Linked DNA regions of Homo sapiens: region 1 is linked to region 2. The links are contacts of gene promoters, found by promoter capture Hi-C in blood cells and fetal thymus (Javierre and others, 2016). All regions are on one chromosome and are shown on one strand. Each heading gives the region's core, a stretch centred on a gene start or on the middle of the fragment in contact. The rest is flanking DNA. Distances are from core to core; before and after follow the strand shown. Region 1 overlaps SHCBP1L (SHC binding and spindle associated 1 like). Region 2 holds the start of NMNAT2 (nicotinamide nucleotide adenylyltransferase 2).

Region 1 (6,435 bases), core at 2,893-5,392, 520 kb before region 2:
CATGGGAGGCGGAGGTTGCAGTGAGCCGAGATCGCACCACTGCACTCCAGCCTGGGCAATAGAGTGAGACTCCATCTCAAAAATTAAAAATAATAAAATAATAAAAATTTTAAAATTAAAAAGATATACAAATGGCCAAGAAACATATGAAAAATGCTCAACATCACTAATTATCAGGGAAATGCAAATTAAGACCACAGTGAGATACCACCTTACTCCTACATAAATGGCCATAATTTAAAAATCAAAAGAACAATGGATATTTGTATGGATGTGGTGAAAAGGGAACACTTTTACACTGCTGGTGGGAATGTAAACTAGTACAACTACTATGGAAAACAGTATAGAGATTCTTTAACTAAAAGTAGATCTACCATTTGATCTAGCAATCCCACTACTGGGTAGTTCCCCAGAGGAAAATAAATCATTATATGTAAAAGACACTTGCACACGTATGTTTATTGCAGCACAATTCACAACTACAGAAATACAGGACCAGCCTAAATGCCCATCAACCAAGTGGATAAAGAAAATGTAGTATATACATACTATGGAATACTACTCAGCCATAAAAAGGAATGAAATAATTGCATTTGCAGCAACCTGGGTGGAATTGGAGAACATTATTCTATGTAAAGTAACTCAGGGATGGAAAAACCAAATATTGTATGTTCTCACTTATAAGTGGGAGCTAAGCTATGAGGACGCAAAGGCATAAGAGTGATATAGTGGACTTTGGGGACTTGGGAAAAGGGTAAGAGGGAGTGAGGGATAAAAGACTACACATTGGATACAATGTACACTGCTCAGGTGTTGGGTGCACCAAAATCTCAGAAACCACAACTAAAGAACTTATTCATGTAACCAAACACCACCTGCTCCCCAAAAACGATTGAAATAAAATTTTTAAAAAAGATAACTAAAAGTGTATAATTGTATTGTTTGTAACAAAAAGAAAGAATAAATGCTTGAGGTGATGGGTGCCCCATTTATTGTGTGTGGTTATTACTCATTGCATGCCTGTATCAAATTATCTCATGTACCTCATAACTATATACACCACTATGTATACACAAAACTAAAGATTAAAAAAATAAATTTTAAGACATAGAAAAAAGATGTAAAAAGAATCTTTACTTCCTGGGAACTGACTAGAGTTGCCAAATGCCTCAATTGGCCCAGGACTATCTGTTTTCCTAAGACAGAAGAAGTGCTAAAACTGGGAAAATCCTGGGCAAACTGGGATGAATTGGTCATCCTAGGATTTATCTTAAATGGAAGCACTTTTAGGAATTTTCAAACTTTGAAATTCCATATTTCTTTCATACCTAGAAATAAATTTAAGATAAAGGTAACAAAGCAGTTGGCTATATAATCAAATGTTAAATGTTTCTCATCTTAACAGGCATAACTGTAAAACATTTTTCATGCTAACATGTAAAAAATAACCAATAAATACATTATTTTAGTTTTACATTTTTGTGTTAATATAATACATTATATGTACATTATAATATATATCTATTATATAATAAATAATCTCACATCTCAAGTTTTTTTTTTTTTTTTTGAGATAGAGTCTCACTCTGTCACCAGGCTGGAGTGCAATGGCGCCATCTCGGCTCACTGCAATCTCCATCTCTCCCAGGTTCAAGCAATTCTCCTGCCTCAGCCTCCCAAGTAGCTGGGATTATAGGCACACGCAACCATACCCAGCTAATTTTTGTATTTTTAATAGAGACAGGGTTTCACCATGTTGGCCAGGATGGTCTCGATCTCTTGACCTGGTGATCTGCCCACCTCAGCCTCCAAAAGTGCTGGGATTACAGGCGTGAGCCACCACGCCAGGCCAAGAATCTTATTTTTTTAAATATATGTATTTAAATATATATAATATATAAGAATATATACATATTTAAATATTTAAGAATAAGTATATATATTACACTATATATTATTTATATATTTAACTATATAGTTTATAGATTATATTATCTAGTATATAATCATACATAGTTCTTATATATGATTATTAACTTTTAACATATAAAATATATATTTTAAAAGTTAAGAATCATATATATATAATTATATATATAAAGTTAAGAATCTTGAGATGTGAGATTACCCTGGATCATCCAGGCAGGGTCAATCTAATCATATGAGTCCTTAAAAGTGGAAGAGGGAGGTAGAAGAAGGAGTCAGGGAGATGAGACAAAAGAATAGACAAGAGACTCAGAGGAGAGACACTTGATCCACTGTTGCTGGCTTTGAAAATGGATGGAGGCCATGAGCCAAGGAATGCAATCGGCCACCAGAAACTCAGCTGTCAACCGTCAAGGAAACAGGGAACTGAATCCTACAACTACAAGGAACTGAATTCTGTCAACATCCAAATGAACAAGGAAACAGATCCTTCCCTAGAGCATCCAAAAAGGAATGCAGGCCTGTCAACACTTTGATTTTGGCCCAGTGAGACCCATGTCAGATTTTTGACCTACAGAACTGTAAGATTATAAATCTGTGTTAAGCCACTAAGTTTGTGGTGACTTATTATGACTGCAATGGAAAACTAACACAATATATACAATATATAAATTCAGTCTTTCATTTATAAGGTATAGGGGGAAAAGTAGGGGTGGAAAGGTAGAAGAGGAAAAAAATTAATTTTATGAAATATCAAAATTCTTAGAAAATCTTAAAAATGCTTTATGCACGTTTTAGAATCATGAAACGAAAAAACAGCATCACCATATTCTGTAGTTGGCCTGGGAAAAGACAAATAGGTTAGAAACCAGTGGCAGCAACAGAAGGGAGGTAGATGGCCAGAGTAAGAAGTTTGTTTACACAAGGCTACTGCTTTTATTGTATACCTTCAAAGATATTACTTTGCCCATTACCTATTCTTTCTGAAGCCAAAAACTGAGAAAGGTAGGGGAAGAGGATGGAAAAGGAAAATCCCCACCCTTAATACTCACTACGTTCATTATAGAAAGATGTTTCTTGTTAAGGCCCCCAAGGACAATCCTGGAATTATTTTAACAAGTCTTTGTGTACACAGACTATGTATAATCAAAATCTATGGAACTGCCTATAGGTTTTCTTCTTTTAAAAAAGTGCTGTTGGGCCGGGCGCTGTGGCTCACACCTGTAATCCCAGCACTTTGGGAGGCCGAGACTGGCGGATCACGAGGTCAGGAGATCGAGACCATCCTGGCTAACACGGTGAAACTCAGTCTCTACTAAAAATACAAAAAAAAAAAAAAAAAAAAAAAAAAAAAAAAAAACAATTAGCCGGGCGTGGTGGCAGGCGCCTGTAGTCCCAACTACTCGGGAGGCAGAGGCAGGAGAATGGCGTGAACCCGGGAGGCGGAGCTTGCAGTGAGCTGAGGTCGCGCCACTGCACTCCAGGCTGAGCGATAGAGCCAAACTCCATCTCCCCAAAAAAAAAAAAAAAAAATCAACTCTCAGCCTCAAGAGATTGTTTATGGCAATTCAGCGTAACCTTTGTTAGGTTACACATAACATGAAGTAAAAGTCAAAAGTTTAAGTATTTAAGCCTGAATGCTTAAATTTCTTTTTATATTCTTAAGTCAACATAAGCTCTGCTTTGGGAAAAGACCATTCGTTGTTTCTTAGAAAATCAACTCTCTATTTTAGAGGCCACATGACCATCCAATGTAAAGATTATATTTCTCATTTGCAGCTAAGCGTAGCCACATAATAACATTCTAGGTAGAAGCATGAAAGTCAAAATAATGTGTGCAACTTTGAAGAAAGGTTCTTTCCCTTCTGCTTGGCTGAAAACCAGGCATGAAAGCTTGATTACCAATTGCTGTCTTGGATCGTATAGTGATTTTTCATGGAAATCTTACAATCGTGAAACAATATAGAAGAAACCTGAATTTCTGACAACGCAAAACACCTACCTACCTACATACCTACCTACCAGCCCTACGCTGAGTTCCCACAAGGAACATCTATTAGCCCTATTCTCTGCAACTATTGACTATGAGGGAGAAATACATTTCTGTATTGTTTACCTCTCTTATTTTGGATTTCCTTGTTTCTTGCTGTTGAATCTATCCTATTTTTTTCTTTTTTTCACTTTTTTCTTCTAAAATGTATAAGAATGAGCTTAAAGAACCTATCTTAATATATGACATATTATCTTATTCTGGTTACTGTGAATTAGCGATAAATTAAATTTTGTCTCTTGTCTATATGGAACACCTAATGCTTTTTATTGGAGGAGTATTAGAAAACAATATTTAAAACCATATTTGTTTCTGGATTAAATAGTGATGACTGTACTATATACTAAAAATATACTAATATCATTGAATTGTACACTTTGTAATGTGTGAATTTTATGGCATGTGAATTATATCTTAATAAAGCTGTTATTTTAAAAATATGTAAAATGAATCATTCAGTGAAAGCATGATATTTAAATATTTTTTAATTAAGCTTTGAATTGAAACTACCATTTCAGTGGGGTATGAGAATCATGTATTAAACAAATTTGTGAAATATAAAACTTTAACATCAATTCAGACGCTTTAACTTGTGACTATTCTGATATCCCCCTTGACGTTTGCTTCTATCTTATTATTATTCATTTCCAGATTCAGATTTTGCATTACTTTGAAGAGCATTTTATCATCTTTTTTATCTCCTGAAGAAGCCCTTTTGTTGAGAGCTTCTTCTGCTACGATAAAAAACTGTTCCATTGGTTGAAGAATGCTTACTCCATAGCCTTTGTTGCTATAAATATGATTATTAGTCATCTTCAATTTGGGTGCTGGAAGAACCTATTAAATTATTTGAGGAAATTAGTTTTTCAATGATTTTATTTAAAAAATGAAGTAATGAACATATAAAAATTAGCTTAGACTTTATTCTTGGATTAACAGATTTTTTAAAACAACCAAGACTCTCAATTTTGAACAAGTGTTAAGTACTGTTTTCATGACACCAACTAACGTAATATTAACTACAAAAAATATTTAATAAGAATTTTTTTTTTTGAGATGGAGTCTTGCTTTGTTGCCCAGGCTGGAGTGCAATGACACAGTCTTGGCTCACTGCAACCTCCGCCTCCCGGTTCAAGTGATTCTCCTGCCTCAGCCACTCAAGTAGCTGGGACTACAAGGCGCGTGCCACCACACCTGGCTAATTTTTGTATTTTTAGTAGAGACGGGGTTTCAATATTTTGGCCAGGCTGGTCTCGAGCTCCTGACCTCGTGATCCACCCGCCTTGGCTTCCCAAAGCGCTGGAATTACACGCGTGAGCCACCATGCCCAGCCAATAACAAAATATTAAATGAGCCAGGTGCGGTGGCTCATGCCCTGTAATCCCAGCTCTTAAGAAGGCAGAGGCAGAAGGATAGCTTGAGCCCAGGAGTTCGAGACCTGCCTGGGCAATATAGCAAGACCCTATTCTCCACAAAAAGAAAAAGAAAAAAAAAGTGTAAGAAAATATTTAATGAAGTTTTCAATTTACTTTTATCAGTTATTGATAAAAACAACTAATTCTGTATGGCAATACAACCCATGAAGCTGATCTCTTATAACATAATAAACATGAAAATAAGTAATTTCAAATAATATGTGATTTGGAGAAAATAAGGTAATGTGATAGCATGACTGGGTGGGGAGAGGTTACCACTTGAGTGTTCTTTACATTAAAGGCTTCTTTGAAGAGGGACAACCACATTCAGATAGTAATAAGATCTATAGAAAGAGTGTTTCAGGTCAGGCGTGGTGGCTCACACCTGTAATCCCAGCACTTTGGGAGGCAGAGGCGGGCGGATCACCTGAGGTCAGTAGTTCGAGACCAGCCTGACCAACATGGAGAAACCCCGTCTCTACTAAAAATACAAAATTAGCTGGGCGTGGTGGCGCATGCCTGTAATCCCAGCTACCTAGAAGGCTGAGGCAGGAAAATCGCTTGAACCTGGGATGCAGACATTGCGGTGAGCTGAGATCGCGCCATTACACTCCAGCCTGGGCAACAAGAGCAAAACTCCATCTCAAAAAAGAAAAAAAAGAGTGCTTCAGGTGAAGGTAACAGCCAGAACAAGGTTAATAATTTCTGGGAACACAAACAAAGCCAGTGTGGCTCGAATATAATGTATAAGAGGAAGATTGGAAGGAGATTACGTTGGAGAAAGCAGGGGCCAGATCTTGTCAGATTTTATAAACCATGTTTATCAAATTTTAACGTATGTATATATCATCTGGGGAGCTTGTTAAAGACCACATTTTGTTTAATAGGTCTGGCGTGAGGCTCAAAATTCTCCACTTCTAACAAACTACCAGGTGATGCCAATGCTGCTGGTCCATGGCTCACACTTTGAGTATCAGGAATATGATTCTTAAAGTGTGAGTTAAACCAGCAGTATCAGCATCACCTAGGAAATTACTAAAACAA
Region 2 (6,370 bases), core at 1,142-3,641:
GCCCTGGTCCTCAGTTCTTATACTAAGTAAATAATCGTTACTGCCAAAAGTCTCCTTTCACCTTTCTATATCTAAACCCTTCCACTGCAACTCAGGTCTATTTCCACATAGTCTATCCTTGAAGCTCATGGAGAATTGGCAGGTCAGCATTCGCTTAACAAAAGCCTTTATTACTGTTAACAAAGAATCTTCAGCTACAAGACAGAATCTTTGGTTCTCAATCCAAATCTGTTTCTCTTGTAATCTAAAACAACTGGGATTTCCTAGCTTCAGGAAGAAAGGAGCAGTACCTGCTGGGTCATCAAAGATTCTTAGAGCCACAGAGTTTCATCCCCAGCCCAATGGCTCTTCCCTACTCCTCCTTTCTCTTGGTTCCAAAGGAAAACCCATCATTGCCTGGTCAAGGGAGAGGAGTAAAGCGCATCAACATAAAGTGCTAGAGGACATATGGACAGACAGGAAAAGAAGGAAAGGGATGAAGACACCAGCATCAAAGGAAAGTGAAAGTGGAGTGTTCTTAGGGCACTGATAGTCCTTAGAAGACTGATGACATGCTCTTGTCTACCCTGATGCTGGAACAGAAGTCCTTATTTAACAGGCAAGTTGGCATTGGTTCTTAATAAAAGACTTTTGAAAGCTGAAGGAATGGTGAAGAAGGGATGGCTATCTCTCAGCCTCCCTCCTTCTATCGTGTAGATATGCCTACCCGATTTGCCCTTTGCTCAAAGTAGTTCTATATTCTTTCCATGAGGTTTTTAACAAGCGAGCCCAGTTCAGCGCACCTTTTAAGTTTAAAGATGAATATTTTTAGCCTAAGCCACCTCGCCCTGTCTTTACCGCTGTGGTGTGGTTTTCACTAAACCTCCCTAGGAGGGCTCGCGCAGTCCTCAGGCTCCGGATAAACACGTGTGCCCGCATCCAGCTCCGGCGCGCCCTGCATTTCAGCACCGCCGCCTCTGGAGAGCGCCTTGCTGGCGGGCCAGGTCAGGGCCTCCCACACGCTCTCTCATCCATCCCAGCCCACTCGCTTTTCCCTACTCCTCGCTTCTCTCAGTTTCAAGAAAAAGCACCCCCAACTTCTAACTTCTCAATTCCTGCTTCTAAAGTGACCTCCGCGTCCCTCTTTCCGTGTCTAAACGCTCATGCCCCACGCCTTTGAGTCCTACGAGCAGCTGCGAAGCCGCGTGGCTTCCCACCGGTGGCGCGAGACCTCCAATAGGCATCTATCGATCACCTTTCCCCTACCGCTGCTGGACCCCGAACCAGCCAGCCGGATGCCCCCGCTCGCTCTCTCTGACTCCACGCCCCAAAGCTTCTAAGAAACAAACGCGCGATAAGTCCCCTCCCCCCAACACGCACACGCATATACTCACACACAGTCATTCGCACATTCGTACACACACTAGACGCCTCAAGCCTTCCGAGTGCCATCGCCACCCTGGGCAGAGCCTCAGCCAACTTGGGCCCCGATCCTTCGGCTCCGGCTCGCGCAGGGCCTCCCGCAGCCTCCGCCCGGCCCCCTCCCCGTCCTAGGCAGCGGGTCCCTGAGGCCGAACCTAGGCGGAAAAGGGCCCCCTCCCTATTCACTCAGCATCCACCTCGCGCGGGCAATACACGGCCCACAATTCCCAAACACTGGTCCCTGGGCCGCCCAGAATCACCAGCCAAATCCGAAATTAATCTTGAAGCCCCAGCCCCTGTCACCGGTGTGTCGGGCGCGAGTGTGTTTGCGAATCCCAGGCACATACATGATTTAACTCCTTCGAGCTTTCGGCCCATCCTAAACAAACAGCACGTTATCTCCAGCCCCTTCCTCCCCTACTCGGCGCCCCAACCTCTGCCCCCATCCCGGTCTTCGCCAGCCTGGTAGCCGAACCACCGCACCGCCACACTCCAGTTCTGGTATCTCGAACCCCTGCCCAGCCCCAAATGATACTCATCTCTAGTCCCCTCCCATCCCCCACCTTTGGCCCCCTGCGAGCCGGGTCTGGCCCCGGCAAGTGACGCCTCGGAAACGCAGTCTGCGTACCCTCCCCTGAGTCCAAAATGAAGGGGCCGACCTCCACCAGCTGGATGAGCCGGCCCACCCCTCCGAAGGGGCACACGCCTTCCCGTTCGATCGCCCTGGAAAACACAGGTGCCTGGGAAAGGAGAGGAGCGGAAGCGGCTTCCAGAGGTGGGCGGGAGGACTCACCAAACATCTGAATGTGCCCTTTGGTGATGGGATTGAAGCTGCCGCAGGCGAGCAAGATAACGTGGGTCTTGGTGGTCTCGGTCATGGTGCAGATGGGTCCTTCGCGGTGGTCTAGGGGTTGCCTCTCTTTTTGTGTCTCGTTGTGTCTGCAGAGGGAGAAAGGAAGGCGAGGCTCCGGCGGTGGATGCTGTGGACTCCAAGGAGCCGCTCCAGACGCAAACCGCGTCACTCTCCGCCTCCCCTTAACGCTTGCAGCTCCGGCTAGATCCGAGGCTGCTTTTGTATTGCTCTGCTCTCTTCTCTCCTCGGTCGCTCTCTTTTCGTTCTGGCTTCCTTCGCATCTCTCGCCTGGTGCCCCACCCCATCCTCTCTATCGCCCCCAGCCCACTTCACTCCATCACTGTCTTCCTTAGAGTTTATCCAGAAGGCAAGACGTGGTATCCAAGCTCAGAACCAAGAGCCCACAGCATGGTGTGAGCTCTTTCTGCCTCTTGCCTCATCTTGATTCAGTTTTCCTCCTCATTCTAACATTTTTCTGTCCCCCCTACTTTCTCTAACATCTCCAAGTTAAAAAATGTTTGATCTTAAGGTATTTTTTCTTTCTCTCTTCCTCAAAATTTTAAGTGAGAAATGACCATTGTTTATTTCAGTAGTATTCATTTCTGCTTTTCCTTTTTCCTTTATCTGATGATTCCAAACTATTGAGTTGAGTCCAAATCTTGATCTGCTGGCTGCAGAGAGATAGGGGTGATCTAAGCCCTTCCTCTGCAATACTGATCCTTTTCGTGGGCGAAGCAATGCTATCCGTTTGAGAGAACATGAAGGGGGCAGAGTTACTAAAACTGTATTAGAAAATTATGGGGATCCGCCGGGTGCGGTGGCTCATGCCTGTAATCTCAGCACTTTGGGAGGCCGAGGCGGGCGGATCACGAGGTCAGGAGTTCGAGACCAGCCTGGCCAGCACGGTGAAACCCTGTCTCTACTAAAAAGCAAATACAAAAACTAGCCGGGCATGGTGGCGAGTGCTTGTAATCCCAGCTACTCAGGAGGCTGAGGCAGGAGAATTGCTTGAACCTGGGAGGCAGAGGTTGCAGTGAGCGAAGATCGCACCACTGCACTCCAACCTGGGCGACAGCGAGAATCCATCTCGAAACAAAAAAAAAGAAAAAAGAAAATGATGGGGATCCTCCATAAGCTACCAAAGTTGAGACAAAGACTTACCATTTAACAAGTGTTTCTTGAGGGCTCATTATGTGTCAAGTATTGCTATAAACCCTGCTGGTGAAGCAAAGTCACTGTCTTCATTTTACTGGAGGAAGATAGACAATAAATATTAGATGGCAATTGTGCAATGCACAGTAAGTGAATGCAATTTACTCTCTGACAGAGCAGAGAGTGAGTGGAGAAGAGAGGACGAATCAAGTAGTCTGAGAAGGCCTCTCTGGGGAGGTGACATTTCAGTGAGACCTGAGCGACAGGAGTAGTTGCTAGCTCACGTATTCAGGGACAGGGAAGGGCTTACTGTATTCATAGAAATGAAAGGCCAGTGATGCTAGAAAGTATGGGCAAGGGGAAAAATGATAGAAGACTGAGCAGCAGGTGATCAGGGCCAGATCAAATGGGGCTTGTAGACTAGGGCAAGAGTTAGACACTTTTCTAAGTGGAATAATAACAAAAGGAAGCCACTGAAGCTTTTAAGCAGGGGAATAATATGTAATTTACATTTTTATAGGATCACTCTGGCTGCTGGGTGGAAAGGGAGGGCAAATGGGAAGACAAGGAAAGCATTTAGGAAAATCTGGTAGCCTAGGCAAGTGGAGTTGTCCTGAGACCAGGGTTTATAGAGACGGGAGCAACGAGAAGTAGATGGTCTCAGGATATGTTTTATAGATTTTGAAATTTGGCTTAAACAATGAGTAGACTGAAATTGAGAATGGTAGGGGAAGATAGATGTTCTATGCTTATACAACAGAAAGAACCAATAATTCTTTGCAGATGAATTGGATATAGAGGATAATTCTTTTTTTTTTTTTTTTTTTTTTTGAGACAGGATCTCACTCTGTCACCCAGGCTGGAATGCAGTGGCATGATCTCAGCTCACCACAGCCTCGATCTCCTGGACTCAAGCAATCCTCCCACTTCGGCCTTGCAAGTAGCTGGGACTACAGGTGTTTGCCACCATGTCCAGCTAATTCTTCGTGTTTTTTGTAGAGATGGGATCTCACTATATTGCCCAGGTTGGTCTTGAACTCCTGACCTCAAGCAATCCACCCACGGCAGCCTCCCAAACTGTTGAGATTAAAGGCATGGGCCACAGACCCAGCCAGAGCCAATAATTCTTAACTTAGAGATTGACAAGTACAAATACGTACCTATCCTGGGCTTCAAGTTTCTTGGATAAATTTCCACCCCATATTAGTGAGTTGGTCACTGTGTTTTTTCTTATCCAAGAGCATGTGGTAGGTGTGGAGTAAATATTTGTTAAATTATGATGAATAGCAAATCAACCCTAATACGCATAAAATTTCTAGTTTAAATAGAAGACTCCTAAGAACTGATATATATTTATAATGGGGTTTGTATCTTCCCTAATATGATATGCAGATTAGTGGCTTAAAAAGAGCTAGAGCTTGTAAAGGGAGGTTGACTCAGGTATGAAACTGAGACTCACTAGCTAGGCAATTGACATAATTATAGTTAAGCAATCAATATTTATTGAGTGTCAGCCATGCACCAAGCCCTGATTTAGGGGCTGTGAACAAAACAGAGTCCCTGCTTTAATACAGCTCACATTCCAGGGGAAAACAACAGACCATAAACAAATGAATAAACATAATGGTAAAAAGTACCATAAAGAAAAATAAAGCAGAATGTGAAGAAAAGAGAAAGAAAGAAAATCCTCTTTTATTTGCAGGGGTCAAAGATGGCCTCTTTGATAAGACAGTGTTTGAACAGGGACCTAAATGAAGTGAAGGTATGTGTCACTTGAATATCTAGGGAAGAATATACCAGGCAGGACTGCTAGTATAAAGGATCGGAAGACTAAGAGTGCTTGGGGGTGTTTGACAAGCACACCAAGGTGACTGGAGAAAACAAAGAATGTGGAAAGCACTCAAAGACAGGTCCAAAAAGAAGGACAGATCATACAGGGCCTTGTAGGTCTTAATTAAGGCTCTGGTTTTTTCACTTAGAAGGGATGGGAAGCCATTCGAGGGTTTTGAGTGGAGAAGTGACATGAGGTGACTCAACGTTTGAAAAGTATGTTTGGCAGAAGATATAAATTTTGGAGTCTTCAGTGTAGTTTATATTTAAAGTCATGGGACTAGATGAGGTTACCTAGGGAGAAACAGATATACAGAGTGAAAAGGAGGTCCTCAGTTTCAACCCTGGGGCACACCAAATTAATAATAGTAGCTAACATTCATTGGGTGTTACTAGAAGCCCAAGCACTGTAAAATGTTTACAGATGTTAACTCTTTAACACTCACAATAACTCTGTGAGTTTGTATGATTTTATTCTATCTTAGAGATAAGCCTACAGGGGCACAGGGAAATTAAGTAACTGGTCTGGGTTGAGACTGCTAGCATGTATGGAACCAGATTCAAACCCTGACAGTTTTGATTGAAGGCCCTACTCTTGATACAAGGCTACTCTCTCATCTTGTTTCCCTGCTATGCTATACTGGCCATATTTGTAAAATGAGGAAAACAATACCCACCAAGCTGCAGAGATGTGAAGATTAGAGGTAATGTATGTAGAACACCTAGCATATAGTAGATGATCAATAAATGATAGCTAGTTCATAATTGAGAGAATAGGACTTCTTAGCAGAGATTGGAGAACAGACTGAGAGATACCTTACCATGTGCTAAGGTCTGAATGTTTCTGTCCCCCAAAATTCATATATTGAAACCTAATCCCCCATGTCATGGTCTTAAGAGGTAGGGTGATATGGTTTGGATCTGTGTCCTCACCCAAATTTCATGTTGAATTGTAATCCCACGTTGGAGGTGGTGCCTAGTGGGAGGTGATTGGGTCATGGTGGCAATTTCTCATGGTTTAACACCATCCCCCATGTAGGTGTTGTCTTGATAGTGAGTTCTCATGAGATCTAGTTGTTTAAAAGTGTATAGCATCTCTTTCCACCCACTCCTCGTGCTCCAGCCATGTAAGTC

Evidence for each region. The method cuts DNA at HindIII sites, captures the fragments that hold promoters and counts their contacts. A CHiCAGO score of 5 or more calls a contact.
Region 1: a fragment that was not itself captured here is called in contact with the fragment with the promoter of NMNAT2 in region 2 in 1 of 17 cell types (endothelial precursors); the score reaches 5.4 in endothelial precursors.

The regions. Positions count from the first base shown.
Region 1 is chr1:182,895,422-182,901,856 of GRCh38, forward strand. It overlaps SHCBP1L (SHC binding and spindle associated 1 like), which reads right to left. Exons shown (of 10, transcript NM_030933.4): 10 at 4,444-4,813. The coding sequence ends at 4,562. Among named protein-coding and RNA genes, the nearest start is that of SHCBP1L, 55 kb to the right of the region's middle. The HindIII fragment of the contact is 650 bases long and covers 3,818-4,467 here.
Region 2 is chr1:183,415,989-183,422,358 of GRCh38, forward strand. NMNAT2 (nicotinamide nucleotide adenylyltransferase 2) reads right to left here and starts at 2,392. Exons shown (of 11, transcript NM_015039.4): 1 at 2,195-2,392. The coding sequence starts at 2,279. The HindIII fragment of the contact is 2,573 bases long and covers 1,311-3,883 here.